4 separate regions of the Homo sapiens genome follow, and all the other regions are linked to region 1. Evidence: promoter capture Hi-C in human tissues and cell types (Jung and others, 2019). All regions are on one chromosome and are shown on one strand. Each heading gives the region's core, a stretch centred on a gene start or on the middle of the fragment in contact. The rest is flanking DNA. Distances are from core to core; before and after follow the strand shown. Region 1 holds the start of ERMP1 (endoplasmic reticulum metallopeptidase 1). Region 2 overlaps GLDC (glycine decarboxylase). Region 3 overlaps UHRF2 (ubiquitin like with PHD and ring finger domains 2). Region 4 has its middle 20 kb from the start of INSL4.

The links. The method cuts DNA at HindIII sites, captures the fragments that hold promoters and counts their contacts. A contact is called where the count stands out against the background at its distance.
Region 2: a fragment that was not itself captured here is called in contact with the fragment with the promoter of ERMP1 in region 1 in 1 of the 25 tissues and cell types used here (lymphoblastoid cells).
Region 3: a contact is called between a fragment that was not itself captured here and the fragment with the promoter of ERMP1 in region 1, in 1 of the 25 tissues and cell types used here (hippocampus).
Region 4: a fragment that was not itself captured here is called in contact with the fragment with the promoter of ERMP1 in region 1 in 1 of the 25 tissues and cell types used here (heart left ventricle).

The regions. Positions count from the first base shown.
Region 1 is chr9:5,831,729-5,834,491 of GRCh38, forward strand. ERMP1 (endoplasmic reticulum metallopeptidase 1) reads right to left here and starts at 1,389. Exons shown (of 15, transcript NM_024896.3): 1 at 962-1,389. The coding sequence starts at 1,299. RefSeq lists silencers at 956-1,175, 1,256-1,475. The HindIII fragment of the contact is 3,970 bases long and covers 1-2,763 here.
Region 2 is chr9:6,586,697-6,589,459 of GRCh38, forward strand. It overlaps GLDC (glycine decarboxylase), which reads right to left. Exons shown (of 25, transcript NM_000170.3): 12 at 2,499-2,596; 13 at 1,922-2,006; 14 at 1,705-1,746; 15 at 445-587. Among named protein-coding and RNA genes, the nearest start is that of GLDC, 58 kb to the right of the region's middle. The HindIII fragment of the contact is 3,053 bases long and covers 1-2,763 here.
Region 3 is chr9:6,436,583-6,439,345 of GRCh38, forward strand. All of the region lies in intron 3 of UHRF2 (ubiquitin like with PHD and ring finger domains 2), which reads left to right. Among named protein-coding and RNA genes, the nearest start is that of UHRF2, 25 kb to the left of the region's middle. The HindIII fragment of the contact is 5,119 bases long and covers 1-2,763 here.
Region 4 is chr9:5,249,637-5,252,399 of GRCh38, forward strand. No RefSeq gene overlaps it. Among named protein-coding and RNA genes, the nearest start is that of INSL4, 20 kb to the left of the region's middle. The HindIII fragment of the contact is 6,926 bases long and covers 1-2,763 here.

The DNA.
Region 1 (2,763 bases), core at 139-2,638:
ATCAAGTCAAGAGGTTAAATAAGGCGGGCGGGGGAAACTTTTGATGGACCTAGCCCTCCTAGCATACACCCAAGGTCTAATAACTTCAATTCAGGCCAAAACCAACTGTACCCCTAATGAAAACAAAACTGTTTTTGTCTTTTCACTGCATTCCAAGTGGGGAAAGCTGGAAGTGGGGGTGGGAGACGTTTCAGAAAGTCCTTAATAAGCTTGCAACACTTTGCATTCTAGCAAAAACTTTTTAGAACACAGTAGCTGTTGAAAACTTGACGCCAGCTTAACACTTCATGAGCTTTGACACACCTGGGTTACAATATCTTTGACTTAATCACCTTTCCTAGCATTCTTAAAGGTCTTAAAAAAAAAAAAAAAAGTCAAACCTTACACAGTCACTAATCCAAGGGGCCTAAAGATAAACTGCAGGGATCTGAGAATTTATCAGACTGCATACCAAATTTTGACTGGGCGGTGTTCCAGAAAGAGTTTCTATAGCCTTCAGATGTGGGGGCTGTAACCCTCAGAAAGTTAGAACAGTGCACTAGCGCCTTCCAAAACTCCCCGCCCCCAAAGCGAATTTATACAACAGTCTAGGTACACAAATTTCCATCTGGAAAGCAGAAGGGCTAAGCAAGGTAAAAAGGGGAAGCTGTTCCAGAATATGGGGAGACGACTCACAACCAACCATCTGCACGAAGGGCAGACAGTGGAAAGCAGGTTCAATCTACCTGGCAACCCCAATCTGCACCACGAGCTTAACCGGGGACAGGCAAGCCCCAAGTCCCGGCAATTCAGACCCCAGAAGAAGGACAAGCAAGGTCACCCCACCCCACGTGCAGCCTGGGAGGGGTCAGCGAGTCCCAGCGGTCCGGCAGGGGCGGGTGCACACAGGTGCGGTGCCCCGGAGCCTGCGCAGGAGCCGCAAACGGACGCGCGGGCCGTGCCAGGAGGGAGCGGCCGGTACCTGGCTTGGAGCGCGTCGAACTCCCCGCGGTGTCCAGCGGCCCCGCGTAGCACGAGCTGCTGCAGCGAGAGCTGCACCAGCGTCCGCAGCGCGATCAGGTAGAGCGCGAGCCCCAGCGCGGCGCGCACCTCAGACAGCCCGGTCCCCGCGCCCCTGCTCGCGCCGCCGCTACCCCCGGGGCTCCTCTTCCGCGTCCTCCCGCCGCCGCTGCACCCATCCACCAGAGGCTCCTGCGCTCGGGCCTCCCTCTCCGGCGGTGGCGCGGCCGCCGCTCCCTCTCGACGCTCTACTCCGACGCGGTGCCGCCTCACAGCAGCCGACTCAGAACCCCACTCCATGGCCACGAGCCTCAGCTGCCAGCCCAACCGCCCCAACCCGCGACAGCCCCGGCCGCCGCCGACGCCGCCGTCGCTGCCGCAGCGCCTCCTAGTGAGCGGACGGAAACTGCAGAGGGCCAAACTTCTTCTGATTGGCCCGTCCCGCCGCGCCAAGACCCAGCTTCTTTGGCAGTTCTCGGGTGCACACAGCTGCAGGGCCGACCCAGCAGCGGGTGGTGGATATGCCGTCTCCCGCAGGGCTTTTCCAGCCCTCTGTAGGACGGAGATTGCCAAATGTAAAGACACCTAAAAACCCAAAACGAGAAAAATGAGAGATCGCTTTTGAAAGAACACACAAGGCTCTTACAGTGCATCAGGCAGATGAAAAAAGCAATGACCTGGCTTTCGTAAGGAAGGAATATTAGAACATCAGGCTCCAAAAAAGTGGGTTCCTGGCTCTTAAAATTAGAAATAAGATTACGCAGAGGAGGCCCGGCCTATTGCTTTCACATGCATAATCTAATCAGATCTTCATAACTCAGCAACTTAATCTGTGCTATTACTGTCTCCATTTAACAGATAAAGAAAAATAATGGCTATTATTTATTGAATACCTGCTATGAGCTAAGCGCTAGGTCAAGTCCTTTAATACATCATCTTATTTAATTATCTTTAACAATACTTAAAAGGAAATATCTTTGTTCCCATTTTATAACCTGAGAAACGTAGAGATAACAGATGAAGAATGTAAATCTAATTTCATGGGCTCCCAAAACAGCATTCTGTTCCACTACTACATTAGCACTCTGCAAGTGAAGGTTCAGAAAGGCCATTCTTCACTTGACGACTCTCTGGGGCGGTTAAGCAGCAGAGCCTTGGTTTCAGTGCAGATCCTAGTGATTATCTAGTCTTCTTCCAGCTTGCCGGTACCCATGAGCCTCTCTGCTCCAAGGTTTTTTGTCCCTAGCTTGGAGTTGCTACATTAGCATGAGCATTAACCTAGAGACCAACTGGGAGAGCACACTGCCGGATTTTGACTTAGCACATATGTCAGATTTCATACAATGCCCTATAGTCCTGCTCTTGCCCACCTCTCAGGCTCCTCTGACACCAGGATGCTTCTTATTTCCAGCTCTCCAGCCACACTGGCCTCTTTCAAAGACTTCCTGCACGCATCTTTCCTTCTACAATAGGATCTTCTCACATGCTGTTTGAATTACCTGGAGTGTTCTTCTCTCTCCTCATTGTCTTTTTAACTCCTAGTTATCCTTTAAATCTCAGATTAAGTGGTACTTCCTCAAGCAAGAATCTCCTAATTTAATTAAGCTTGCTTCCCCTATTTGTAGGATCTCACAGCACCATGTTTGCATGTGACTATTTCATAACTTCCTCATTAGACTGTAAGCCCCACGAAGGCAGGAATCAGGTCTGGTTTTACTCACCATTTTATTCCTTGCTCTTAACACAAAGCATGACACATAGTAT
Region 2 (2,763 bases), core at 264-2,763, 760 kb after region 1:
TGTCCCCTCCCCGATTCAATCTGGGCTCGCCTCGTGACTTGCTTTAATAGATAGACTAATCTGGAAGGGATGCAGTGTAACTTAGGAGGTTCGGCCATTAGAGATTTGCAGCTTCTCCATGCTTCATCTGGGAACACGCATTCTGAACCCCGACATTGTGCTGTAAGGAACAAGGAAGCTCAAGGAACTACAAGGAAAGCCCCATATGGAGAAAAACTATGGCCCTAGTGAACATCCTCAAATGCACTCCCAGCCCACAGCTCCTCACCAGCTATGTGAGGGAGAACACGATGCACCTTCTAGCCATGCTCTCCCCAGTGGAGTGGAACTGTCTAGCAAGTCACAGAATAACACAAAAAAGTTGTTGTTCTAAGCCTTTAAGTTTTGTGGTGTATGCTATACAAGAATAGATTGCTGAAACAATAAGAAAAGAAATGCCCTTACCTGTTTGGCTGGAAACAGACCTGGTCATAACCTGTGAGTTCACACAAATCCTTCTCAAGCTCTCGGAAAAGCTGCTGATATCCTTGAGCTTGATCCAGAGGCACAAAGGGGTGGATGTTTGCAAATTCTTTCCATGTGATAGGCTGAAAAGAAAGAAAACAAAAATGCATATATACATATTATAATAGCAATAGCAATAATAACTTTAATAATAATGACGATGATGAGAAAAGCTATGTGCCAGGCACTGTTCTAAGCGCTATACATATGTTAATTTATTTAAGTTCCACCACAACCTTATAAGGTAAGTACCGTTACTGTCTTCATTTAAAAGTGGGACATAGTTGTCCAAAAAGGGAACTTACACAAAAATACAATGTTTTGCTAACTTTTCAGGGAAGAAAAGCCCCCAAAACAGATTTCTTTCCATGAAACACAATGAGTTGCTTCAGGTATGGTTGGCATAAACTCTTATATAGCAATAGATTGTTCTCTTTCTTCACTAAGTGGAACAAGAAACAAACACAAAAGTAAATGGGAAGGCCAGGTACAGTGGTTCACACCTATAATTCCAGAACTCTGGGAGGCTGAGGTGGGAGGACTGCTTGAGGCCAGGAGTCTGAGATCAGACTGGCAAACACAGCAAGACCTTGACTCTATTTTTTAAAAAAATAGAGAGGGAAATATTCTTATCATGATATAAAATGATTTCTTTCGTCTGATATGATATGTCACTTCAGAATAAACGTAAGAAATGAAAGAAAGAAAAAAAAAGCTTCGCTAAAATGGATCCTGGCCTAGTAGAGATACTTGCCAACCACAACAGCGAGTTGCACAAATCTTCTGTTGACTTGAATCCCTATCTTTCTGATACAGGAATGATTTCTAGAAAGACGGCTTAAGGTTCGTAATTCTACCTGAGATTTAGAACTATAAACAATTTTTTTTAAAAAAGCTTTTAATATGACAGGTTTAAAAGGGGGTGGGGGTGGGGGAGGGATAGGATAGAAAGGCATAAATACCATATACATTTAATTAATTTTATTAAAAAATAATAAGTTTACCCATACATTTAAATGATGAAGTCGTGAGAAATACAGGGTTACTCCCAAGATTGGTGAATAGCAAGGTAAAGAATTATTAAAATAGTTCTTCAATCACAGAATCACAGTCCCAGTAGATTTCACTAGTTCTGGGCTTAGGTGGAAGCTAGAACACTGCCCCTTGCTGAGTATCCACTTACAGAAGTGAGCTACTTACTGCGAGTTCAGACGAACTGTTCAGTTTCATGGTGCAGGATCCCTTTAAGAAGAACATCCAAAATGTATCACATTAGTGATTTTCTATAGTCCATCAATCAACCCTCCATTCTCCCAGCATGGCCACCCCTTTGTTGCTCTTGGAGCATATTAGGTAGGACCAAGAGACGTGGGATTGGGGTAGCTTGGAAATGAGAAAAAAGGCCACAAATAACTACCAGTGGAATCATGCTGTGAACAAGGGAAATGTCTTTATTTTCCAGTTTCTTCATGTACCGGACAATGTTTGTTTCAGAGTGGTAGCTGTGAACACAAAACACAGAATTAGGGGCCCCAAAAGTAGATATGAGTCCATGCACATCCTCCTGACATATAAGACACACCGAAATCTACTTTCAAAATGCAGATCAATTTTGGCCACGGACAATATGTCAACTACACTCAGAGAGAAGGGCACAGACCCCCACAAACCTCAGAGGATGTCTTGGACAAGAAGCTGACTGTGGGTATGAGTTGAAGGTTGGGAAGAAGAGGATATAGGGCTCTTGGGAGTGAACTTCAGCCTGGCAATTATTCATCCCTGCTTCCTGACTGCCAAGGGAGCAGAGCCACCAGGAAACAAAGTGTGCTTTTCCCAAGTCAGGAACGGGATCGTTATGAGGATGAAATACTTGGGAGCCACGGCTGAGCCAGAATAACCAGGCCACAGCAGGCGAAATCAGCAGCAGCACTCTGCCTAACTCCCTAGCTGATTACCAAAGCACAAAACGCAGAAGTCACACAAGACACACAAACCTGTTGAACACTTGATGGGTGAGGAACGGGCTGGTCCTCTTGAACACAGACCCTGGAATACCTCTGCACTCCTCTCCCATGCTTTCAGCAACCAGTTCCTGAAGGAGAAACACAGAGATGATAGGGCCAGAACTGTGCCTGGAGCCACATGTGGACATCCAGGCTTCTGGGTGGCTGGGCCACAAAGCACTCAAAATGGATCAAATATATAATTTTACTTATTTATTTATTTATTTATTTATTTAATATTTTTGGAGGCAGGGTC
Region 3 (2,763 bases), core at 141-2,640, 600 kb after region 1:
CAGAATGGCACAACATAGACATAGAATAAGGAACTTTAAATAGTGAACTAAGGCTTATTAAATTTTACAGTTTTAGGGGCTCTTAAAGTTGCTTTTGAAGTAAGACTATCCAATGGATAGGACCTACCCTTCAGTTTGGTGTATCTTAGAGCACAAAACACAGTACCTTAGCATATATTTGGCAACTTTTTTTGTCAGTTAGAATGAATGTTAAGTAAAGGGGAATCTAAATCCAACATGTGTGAAAAGACTAAAATTACCTGCCCTAAATAATTTTACGTGATGGAATTAAATGTTTCAATGCTGGCAACTTAAAGATACGATAGCTGAACTTTCTTTGAAAAATGAAAGATAACAGAAGCTTAGTAACAGGTAAATGTCACCTCTTTAAAAAGAGGAAAGGACTATATAAAATATGAGATGTATAACATAAATAAGCTCCTGGATAAAAGAATCATTATGAGCCCGATATGGTTGTGATACAAAGCATGTTAAAGTTTCATTCTTTGTGATCATTAGAAAAATGAATTATAAAATATAATGAAGTACATGTTGATTTCAGTAAGTCATCAAACAAGTTCTTCTTTGAATGGAGGATGCATTGAAGAAAGCTGGTATAGCCTAACAGTAGTAATAAGCAGATTTTTTATTTTATTATTATTATTTTTTAGACAGAGTCTCGTTCTGTTGCTCAGTCTGGAGTGCAGTGGCACGATCTCGGCTCGCTGCAACCTCTGCCTTGCAGGTTCAAGCGATTCTCCTGCCTCAGCCTCATGAGTACCTGGGATGACAGGTGCCTGCCACCACGCCTGGCTAACTTTTGTATCTTTAGTAGATACGGGGTTTCACCGTGTTGGTCAGGCTGGTCTTGAACTCTGGACCTCAGGTGATCCACCTACCTCAACCTCCCAAAGTGCTGGGATTACAGGTATGAGTCACTGCACCTGGCCAGATTTTTTTATTGAGTAGTAAGCTCCAAGTGAGTCGATAGAATGTGGTTGTCATATAGTTATGCTGTAAATCTGTTTTGCTTTATTTTATTTATTTATTTTTGAGACAGAGTCTTGCACTGTGGCCCAGGCTGGAGTGCAGTGGTGCGATCTCAGGTCACTGCAACCTCCACTTCCTGGTTTCAAGTAATTCTCGTGCCTCAGCCTCCCAAGAAGCTAGGATTATAGGCATGCACCACCACACCTGGCTAATGTTTGTATTTTTAGTTGAGACTGGGTTTCACCACGTTGGCCAAGGTGGTCTTGAATTCCTGATCTCAAACACCCACCTTAGCCTCCCAGAGTGCGAGATTACAGGTGTGAGCCACCGCACCCGGCTAGTTTCATTAGAAGTAAGATACCTAGTACAAACCAGATGATGCTGCTGTTGTACTGGACTGGCTATTCCCTACTAGGAATATTGTCCTCCAGCTCTCATGCCTTAAAAACAATACCATCAGGACCTGGTGCATGTTCAGAGTAGGACTCAAAATGTAAAACTACAGTGAAGAGTAGCCAAAAAAACTAAATACTTAGCTTGAAAGACCTGGATTATGATTGTTCCCATATTGTAAAAGCTCTTAGAAGAGATTTCTGTATAACACAGAAGGGAAGTTTCAGGATAACCTAAACTTCCTACCAGTCAAATATCTCTGAAGATGGAGAATGGTCTGCCTTGAGAAGTAGCCAGTAAACTAGCATTGGCCATTTTCAACCATAGATGGGAAGACTTATTGGAGATGATGCACTGCAAAGAGAATCTATGAAGTTAGTAATTGTATTAGATGACCTGTAATGACAGCATGTCATTTTTACCTCTAAGCCAGTGTCTCTCAAAGTCACATTTTTGTACTTTAACTAAATAGGCTTTAAGTGCTTATAGGTTACCATCCCATTGCATTTATGGCTTTATGGTATTTCTCTCAAAGAACTACTTTTTCATTTTTCTCCTAGAGTGATAAGCATTATTTGGCAAACCTGTGCACAATTGTGTCTGCAAACCTCTTGAGTGTAGCAGTGTAGTTTGAACAAGCTGTCATTTAGCAAAAGCAGGGAGATGTATTGTACATGAGATGAAAGAAACCTGCCTCTGGAATTATTCTGGGGTATGCAATGTTTGTCAGTTAAAATGGAGCTGTTTAAAAGCTGTTTTTTATAGTAATCTACGTATCTAATAGATTACTAGACCAGATTATCAGTCTTTGAAATGAAGCTTCATTAAAACAGAATTCGTTGCTGAATTAGGCCAAGATAAATAGCTATTCTCTTGCATTTTCAACTTCTACTCCAGTCAGAGCAGAGTTAAAAACAATCTTTAGTCTATGAGGAATGATAGCCATTATAGATTTATGATGTTTCTTCTTAGGTAGAGGAGTTTCAAACACCAAACCAAAAAAATTTAAGATATAGTAGAAGATGTAATTCTAAAATATAACTGAAATAATTTGTTTCCTAATTTATCTCCACTATTCCTTCAAAAATTACAGATACAAACACTAAGTTTATGAAAAACAGGTTATGTTAAGAGATTTGAAATGTTTTAAAATTTGAGTTTTACTAGTTGCTTGTAAATGGTCCTTTTCTATAGATTTCTTGGTGAACATAGGCTGAATTGTTTTTTGTTTGTTTCTTTGAGACAGCCCTGCTCTATGGCTTGGGCTGGAGTGCCGTGGTGTGATCTTGACTCACTGCAACTTCTGTCTCCCGGGTTCAAACGATTCTCCTGTCTCAGCCTCCTGAGACACAGATGTGCACCACCACGCCCGGCTAATTT
Region 4 (2,763 bases), core at 164-2,663, 580 kb before region 1:
ATTGCTAAAAGGAGATCTAAATCTTGAAACAAATCCTTGAAATACACCAAAATGAACATCTTTAAAGCAAAAGACCTCTACAAGGAAAACTACAACACACTGCTGAAAGAAATCATAGATGACACAACAAATGGAAACACATCCCATGCTCATGGGTGGGTAGAATCAGTATTGTGAAAATGACCATACTGCCAAAAGCAATCTACAAATTTAATGCAATCCCAATCAAAATACCACCATCATTCTTCACAGAACTAGAAAATACAAATCTAAAATTCATATAGAACCAAAAAAGAGCCTGCATAGCCAAAGCAAAACTAAGCAAAAAGAACAAATCTGGAGGCATCACATTACCTGACTTTAAAGTATACTATAAGGCCATAGTCACAAAAACAGGATGGTACTGGTATAAAAATAGGCACATAGACCAATGGAACTGGATAGAGAACCCAGAAATAAAGCCAAATACTTACAGGCAACTGATCTTCAACAAAGCAAACAAAAACATAAAGAGGGGAAAAGACACCTTATTCAATCAATGGTGCTGGGATAATTGACAAGCCACATGTAGATGAATGAAACTGGATTCTCATCTCTCACCTTATACAAAAATCAACTCAAGATGGATCAAAGACTGAAATCTATGACCTGAAACCATAAAGATTCTAGAAGATAACATTGGAAAAACTCTTCTATTCATTGGCTTAGGCAAAGATTTCGTAACCAAGAACCTGAAAGCTAATGCAACAAAGACAATAATAAATAAATAGGACTTAATTAAACTAAAAAGCTTCTGCACAGCAAAAGAAATATTCAGTACAATTAACAGACAACTCACAGAGTGGGAGAAAATCTTCACAATCTATACAAAGGACTAATATCCAGAATCTACAAGGAACTCAAACAAATCAACAAGAAAAAACAAAAAACAAAAAACAATCCCATCAAAAGTGGGCTAAGGGTATGAATAGACAGTTCTCAAAAGAAGATATCCAAATGGCCAACAAGCATATGGAAAAATGCTCAACATCACTATCAGGGAAATGCATATCGAGACCACAATGCAAACCATCTCACTTCTGCAAGAATGGCCATAATAAAAAACATCAAAAAATAATAGAGTTGGCATGGACGCAGTGAAAAGGTAATACTTTTACACTGTTGGAGGGAATGTAAACTAGTACAGCGACTATGGAAAACAGCGTGGAGATTCCTTAAAGAACTTAAAGTAGATCTACCCCTTGATCCAGCAATCCCTCTACTAAATATCTACCCAGAGGAAAAGAAGTCATTACATGAAAAAATACTTGCACGCACATGTTTATAGTGCATAGGTATAGTGCATAGGTAAAAATATGGAACCAGCCCTAATGCCCCAAAGAAAATGTGATACACACACACACACACACACACACACACACACACACGCACTATAGAATACTATTCAGCCATAAAAAGAATAAAATAATGGCATTCACAGCAACCTGAATAGAAATGGAGACTATTATTCTAAGTGAAGTAACTCAGGAATGGAAAACCAAGCCATAGTTCTCACTTATATGTGGGAGCTAAGCTATGAGGACGCAAAGGCATAAGAATGACATATTGGGCTTTGGAGACAGGGAAAAAAGTGGGGGTGGCAAGATATAAGACTACACGTTGGGTACAGTGTATGCTGCTCGGGTGATGGGTGCACCAAAATTTCAGAAATCACCACTAAAGAACTTATTCATGTAACCAAACACCACCTGTTCCCCAAAACCCTATTGAAATAAAAAATTTAAAAATTAAAAAGTCATTATATAATGATTAAAGGGTCATTTCATCAAGAGGACATAACAATTGTAAAAATAAATGCACTCAACATCAGAGCAACTAAATATATAAAATAAATACTAACAGACCTTAAGAGAGAAATAGACAGCAATACAATAACAATAAGTGACTTTAATAGTCCATTTTAAACAATGGATAGATTACCCAGACACAAAATCCATAAGGAAACAGTACACTTGAATAATATAGACCAAATGGACCTACAGATATATACAGATCTTCCCATCCAACAACAGAAGAATACACATTTTTTTCAACACACACAGAATTCTCCAAGACAGATTGTATGTGAGGTAAAAAACCCAAGTGTTATCTAATTCAATAAGATCAAAATTCATACTAATTATTTTTTTCCAACCACATTGGTATGAAATTAGAAATCATAGGATGAATTTCAGAATATTCACAAATATGTAGAAATTAAACAACATGCTCCTGAAGAAAAATGGACCACAGGAGAAATTAAAAGAAAAATTTTAAAATATCCTGAAACAAATGATTATGGACATACAACCTAACAAAATTATGGAATGCAGCTAAAGCAATCTTAAGAGGGAATTTTATAGCAATAAACACCATAAGAAGAATATGGATCACAAATAAACAACCTAGTCTTTACATTTCAAGTAACCAGAACTCAATAATATGAGGAAAACTGAAAAATTCACAAATATGTGGAAATTAAACAACATCTTCCCAAACAACCATTAGGTCATGCAAGAAATCAAAAGAGAAACAGAAAGTTAACTTGTGACAATTAAAAATAGAAACACAACATACCAAAACTTATGGGATGTAGCAAACACATATCTAAAGAAAAGTTTTTGGCATAGGCCTAAGTCAAAAAAGAATGATACTAAAAAACAATGAAACTTTACTTCTGAAGAAACTAGAAAAAGAGGAACATAGAGAGTAGAAAGAAAAAGT